Linked DNA regions of Homo sapiens: region 2 is linked to region 1. Evidence: promoter capture Hi-C in human tissues and cell types (Jung and others, 2019). All regions are on one chromosome and are shown on one strand. Each heading gives the region's core, a stretch centred on a gene start or on the middle of the fragment in contact. The rest is flanking DNA. Distances are from core to core; before and after follow the strand shown. Region 1 holds the start of ZNF676 (zinc finger protein 676). Region 2 has its middle 45 kb from the start of ZNF676.

Evidence for each region. Contacts are between HindIII fragments. The study calls those that stand out against the background at their distance.
Region 2: a fragment that was not itself captured here is called in contact with the fragment with the promoter of ZNF676 in region 1 in 1 of the 25 tissues and cell types used here (mesendoderm cells).

What each region holds. Positions count from the first base shown.
Region 1 is chr19:22,195,324-22,198,334 of GRCh38, reverse strand. It overlaps ZNF676 (zinc finger protein 676), which reads left to right and starts at 1,384. Exons shown (of 3, transcript NM_001001411.3): 1 at 1,384-1,735. The coding sequence starts at 1,702. The HindIII fragment of the contact is 8,211 bases long and covers 1-3,011 here.
Region 2 is chr19:22,150,415-22,153,425 of GRCh38, reverse strand. No RefSeq gene overlaps it. Among named protein-coding and RNA genes, the nearest start is that of ZNF676, 45 kb to the left of the region's middle. The HindIII fragment of the contact is 5,978 bases long and covers 1-3,011 here.

The sequences.
Region 1 (3,011 bases), core at 135-2,634:
TATATACCAGAGCTTTCTCTATATTATGGCTTCTTATATGCCATGCAGAAATCTCACTATGAATTTATAATCTGCAATATTAAAAATGTCCCTTTGTGGCTGTTGAACATGGGAAAGTGTAGATACTCAAAATTCATATTGGGGAAAACCTGGGGTTTTTAGTGAAGACAGAGAACATGTAATGTTGTGGTTTCATCTGTGTTCTTTATTATGTCTATGCAGTACAAGATTAAGAAAACACTCATTGAAGCAGTGTGGTATTTATTACCCAGAAAATTCTAAAAAAAATTGTTAGGAGATACCTGCTCTCTCAGTGCTGAAGAAATACTATTTAAAATCACTACTAAAAGTTACAGAACATGGGAGATATCTCTATCTTGAACTTTCCATAAAACTAATGTTTCCTTATGGTTAAATTCAGACTATAATTTACCTTTCAGAGGGGGGGCAATATCTCAGCAGTAATACTGTGTCCTTCTGGGTACATCAGGACATTAAAAAAATGTGTTCTAGTGTAATTGATGTTAATAAATCACTTGGTTGATAAGCTCTCTGACACATTTTTTTACTATGGAATTAATCATTTTCCTCTTCATCATTAAATATCTTTATGCAGCTGATGTGAATAAACCAAAACATTTAATCTGACAGCTGCCCTTCTTTCTTAGGTTTCCTTTGCATTTGTCTGTTTTTGGAAAATGAAGGCTCTTATCTTTGTTTACAAACCAGAAAAACAGAAAAACACAGGCTCATTCTATTACTGGATGTTTTAAAAAATAGTCTTTTTGGGCCAAAAACATTGGCATACTGATGAGCTTATTAGAAATTCAGCAACTCAGACTTTATCCCAGATCTGAAAAAAAAAAAATTGCATTAACAGGATCTCTAGCTTATTGCACACATTAAAATTTGAGTCATACCTTCTAACTCAACATGTCTATTCCATCTGAATAATATGCAAAACTATGTCTTTTCCATCTGAAAAATACACACGATGAATTTTTTTTTTTTTTTTTGAGATGGAGTTTCACTCTTGTTGCCCAAGCTAGAGTGCAATGAATCTTGGCTCACTGCAGCCTCCGCCTCCTGGGTTCAAGCAATTCTCCTGCCTCAGCCTCCCGAGTAGCTAGGATTACAGCCATGTGCCACCATGCATGGCTAATTTTGTGTTTTTAGTAGAGACGGGGTTTCACCATGTTGGTCAGGCTGGTCTCGAACTCCCAACCTCAGGTGATCTGCCCACCTCAGCCTCCCAAAGTGCTGGGATTACAGGCATGAGCCACCATGCCTGGCACACAATTCTGTATGATGTAAATATAGCACTCAAAATTGTACATGTTAGTGTTTTTGCCCTCAATTTTATACTTTATTATCTAGAAAAATATTACATATACACAGATGTTATGGATCTTATACCACTTTCTTTTCTCAGAGTTAGAGAATACATTAGTGAACATTTCTGTGTTGAAAACTATTTTATTGAATAATTTCAGTCATTCATATAAGTCAGAACCAGCTCTCTCTACTCTCTCCATTTTACCTTGAGTCACATTAAAAGTTCTGCCCATGACCAATTGGTAAATATATGTGTTTGTGTGTGTTTTCCAGGGAGCATTGACATTTAGGGATGTGGCCATAGAATTCTCTCTGGAGGAGTGGCAATGCCTGGATTCTACACAGCAGAATTTATATAGGAATGTGATGTTAGAGAACTACAGAAACCTGGTCTTCCTGGGTGAGAATAACTTTAATACGCAATTCCTAGTATATACTACAGGTTTCATTTTGCTGCAGACCTTATTGGACTGAACAAAGGAGGATGAATGCGAGAATACAGACAAAGACAAAAGAGTATATTTGGAAGAAGGGGTCGTGGACTCCTTGCTTCTGGTGAACAAGGGTCCTGAGCTTCTATAGCCCTTTGTATTTATTGAGTAAAGGAGATAGGGAGAAGGGGGAGGTTGTGGTCAGCTGCTTGACTTAATGCAGGCCTGCATGACTGTATTCTTTGAACAGTACTCTCCAGATGTTCCAGTAGATAACTCCAAGGAGCATGGCACCAGGGAGTGACTGTCCTCAGTATACCTTCTGGTGGCAGGAGCAGAAGCAAGTTTGCCCACATTCTGCACTCATGATAAACAGTTTGCTGTTTGATCATATAGCCTCCAGTGGAATGCTGAGTTGGTCACAACACTCAGGCATTCAGCTCCCAACATTTCCCCCTTCCTGTTTATGCATTAATCAAATAAACGTAAGGCCAGGTTGGGCAGCTCTCATTTTGTGATTGGTCCGTCGGATTTTACAGACTATGAACAGAAAACAGAGACAGAACAGCATTACTCCAAAAACTACATATGAGATGTTTGTGTGGTGCTTTAGATAGGTCCAAGGATTGAGGCTCTCCAGGCCTTGCTGGAATTCGGTCCAGTCTTCTAAAGAAGGCTGAAACTCTTGAGTTTGCTTATTTAAATCAAGAATTTTGTTTTGTAATTCACCAGTATCAAAGGTGATGTTGGGTGTGAAAGCTCCCCGCAAATGGGCTTTCACAAGGTCCCATGGATACTCGCTTTGGTTATATTCTACGTTGGTTACACATATATGAGTGTGATTTAAATGATAGCACAATTGCTCTTTCAATTGTAAGTTTTGTAATTGTTCTCCTAACCATAGAACCATGGATTTCAACATTGCCACTTGTTTATAACTCAGTGTTAATTTTATTCTTTAGTAGCCATGCTTGGTTGGCTGTATGCCTCTGCATCCAGTTCTCCACATACTGAGCTGTTGAATAGAACTATGCAAAGCTACAGAGGACATCACAATAGAAGTTATTAGTGTGACCAAGGAAACAATAGCAAAAATTATCATGCCTAAGGGTCTGCGGACACGATAAGTAAGTTGAGTTAGAAGAAGTTTCACAAAGTGCAAAGCAGGGGTGGCAGCCCAAGGCTTGGACAGATTATTAGAAATCCATAGCCCAGGGATGCGACCCAAAATGTGCCAAGACGGGG
Region 2 (3,011 bases), core at 197-2,696, 45 kb after region 1:
CTAGGTTTTCTTCTAGGGTTTTTATGGTTTTAGGTCTAACATTTAAATCTTTAAATCATCTTGAATTAATTTTTGTATAAGGTGTAAGGAAGGGATCCAGTTTCAGCTTTCTACATATGGCTAGCCAGTTTTCCCAGCACCATTTATTAAATAGGGAATCCTTTCTTCATTTCTTGTTTTTGTCAGGTCTGTCAAATATCAGATGATTGTAGATGTGTGGTGTTATTTCTGAGGCCACTGTTCTGTTCCATTGGTCTATATCTCTGTTTTGGTATGAGTACCATGCTGTTTTGGTTATTGTAGCCTTGTAGTATAGTCTGAAGTCAGGTAGTGTGATGCCTTCAGCTTTGTTCTTTTTGGTTAGGATTGTCTTGGCAATGAGGGCTCTTTTTTGGTTCCATATGAACTTTAAAGTAGTTTTTTTCCAATTCTGTGAAGAAAGTCAGAGGTAGCTTGATGGGGATGCCATTGAATCTATAAATTACCTTGGGCAGTATGGCCATTTTCACAATATTGATTCTTCCCATCCAGGAGCATGGAATGTACTTCCATTTGTTTGTGTCCTCTTTTATTTCATTGAGCAGTGGTTTGTAGCTCTCCTTGAAGAGGTCCTTCACATTCCTTGGAATTTGTATTCCTAGGTATTTTATTCTCTTTGCAGCAATTGTGAATGGGAGTTCACTCATGATTTGGCTCTCTGTTTGTCTGTTATTTGTGTATAGGAATGCTTGTGATTTTTTACATTGAAAAATTTTGTATCCTGAGACTTTGCTGAAGTTGCTTATCACCTTAAGGAGACATGGGGCTGAGATGATGAGGTTTTCTAAATATACAATCATGTCATCTGCAAACAGGGACAATTTGACTTCCTGTTTTCCTAATTGAATACGCCTTATTTCTTTCTCTTGCCTGATTGCCCAGAACTTTCAACACTAAGATGAATAGGAATGGTGAGAGAGGACATCCCTGTCCTGTGCCAGTTTTCAAAGGGAATGCTTCCAGTTTTTGCCCATTCAGTATGATATTGGCTGTGGTTCTGTCATAAACAGCTCTTATTATTTTGAGAAACATTCCTTGAATACCTAGGTGATTGAGAGTTTTTGCATGAAGGGCTGTTGAATTTTGTCAAAGGCCTTTTCTGCATCTATTGAGACAATCATGTGGTTTTTGTCGTTGGTTCTGTTTATATGATGGATGACGTTTATTGATTTGCATATGTTGAACCAGCCTTGCATTCCAGGGATGAAGCTAACTTGATTGTCAAGGATAAACATTTTGATTTGCTGCTGGATTTGGTTTGCCAGTATTTTATTGAGGAATTTTGCATCAATGTTCATCAGGGATATTGGTCTAAAATTCTCTTTTGTTGTGTTTCTGCCAAGCTTTGGTATCGGGATGATGCTGGCCTCATAAAATGAGTTAGGGAGGATTCTGTCTTTTTTTATTGATTGGAATAGTATCAGAAGAAATGTTACCACCTCCTCTTTGTACCTCTGGTAGAATTCAGCTGTGAATCCATCTGGTCCTGGACTTTTTTTGTTGGTAGCCTATTAATTATTTCCTCAATTTCAGAACCTGTTATTGGTCTATTCAGAGATTCAACTTATTCCTGGTTTAGTCTTGGGAGGGTTTATGTGTCCAGGAATTTATCCATTTCTTCTAGATTTTCTAGTTTATTTGCATAGAGGTGTTTATAATATTCTCTGATGGTAGTTTGTATGTCTGTGGGATAAGTGGTGATATCCCCGTTATCATTTTTTATTGCATCTATTTGATTCTTCCCTCTTCTTCTTTATTAGTCTTGCTAATAGTCTATCAATTTTGTTGATCTTTTCAAAAAACCACCTCCTGGATTCAATGATTTTTTGAAGGGTTTTTTGCATCTCTATCTCCTTCAGTTCTGCTCTGATCTTAGTTATTTCTTGTCTTCTGTTAGCTTTTGAATGTGTTTGCTCTTGCCTCTCTATTTCTTTTAATTGTGATGTTAGGGTGTCAATTTTAGATCTTTCCTGCTTTCTCTTGTGGGCATTTAGTGCTATACATTTCCCTCTACCCACTGCTTTAAATGTGTCCCAGAGATTCTGTTATGTTGTGTCTTTGTTCTCATTGGTTTCAAAGAACATCTTTATTTCTGCCTTCATTTCATTATTTACCTAGTGGTCATTCAGGAGCAGGTTGTTCAGTTTCCATGTAGTTGTGCAGTTTTGAGTGAGTTTCTTAATCCTGAGTTCTTATTTGATTGCACTGTGGTCTAAGAGACAGTTTACTGTGATTTCTGTTCTTTTACATTTGTTGAGGAGTGCTTTACTTCCAATTATGTTGTCAATTTTAGAATAAGTGTGATGTTGTGCTCAGAGGAATGTATATTTTATTGACTTGGTGTTGAGAGTTTTGTAGATGTCTATTAGGTCAGCTTGGTGCAGAGCTGAGTTCAACTCTTGGATATCGTTGTTAACCTTCTGTCTCGTTCATCTGTCTGATGTTGACCATGGGGTGTTAAAGTCTCCCATTATTATTGTGTGGGAGTCTAAGTCTCTTTGTAGGTCTCTGGTGACTTGCTTTATGAATCCGGGTGCTCCTGTATTGGGTGCATATATATTTAGGATAGTTAACCTTCTTGTTGCATTGATCCCTTTACCATTGTGTAATGGCCTTCTTTGTCTTTTTTGATCTTTGCTGGTTTAAAGTCTGTTTTATCAGAGACTAGGATTGCAACCCCTGCTTTTTTTTGTTTTCCATTTGCTTGGTAGATCTTCCTCCATCCCTTTATTTTGAGCCTATGTGTGTCTCTGGATGTGAGATCGGTCTTCTGAATGCAGCACACTGATGGGTCTTGACTCTTTATCCAATTTGCTGGTCTGTGTCTTTTAATTGGTCATTTAGCCCTTTTACATTTAAGGTTAATATTGTTATGTGTGAATTTGATCCTGTAATTATGAAGTTAGCTGGTTATTTTGCCTGCTAATTGACGGTTTCTTCATAGCATCGATGGTCTTTGCAATTTGACATGT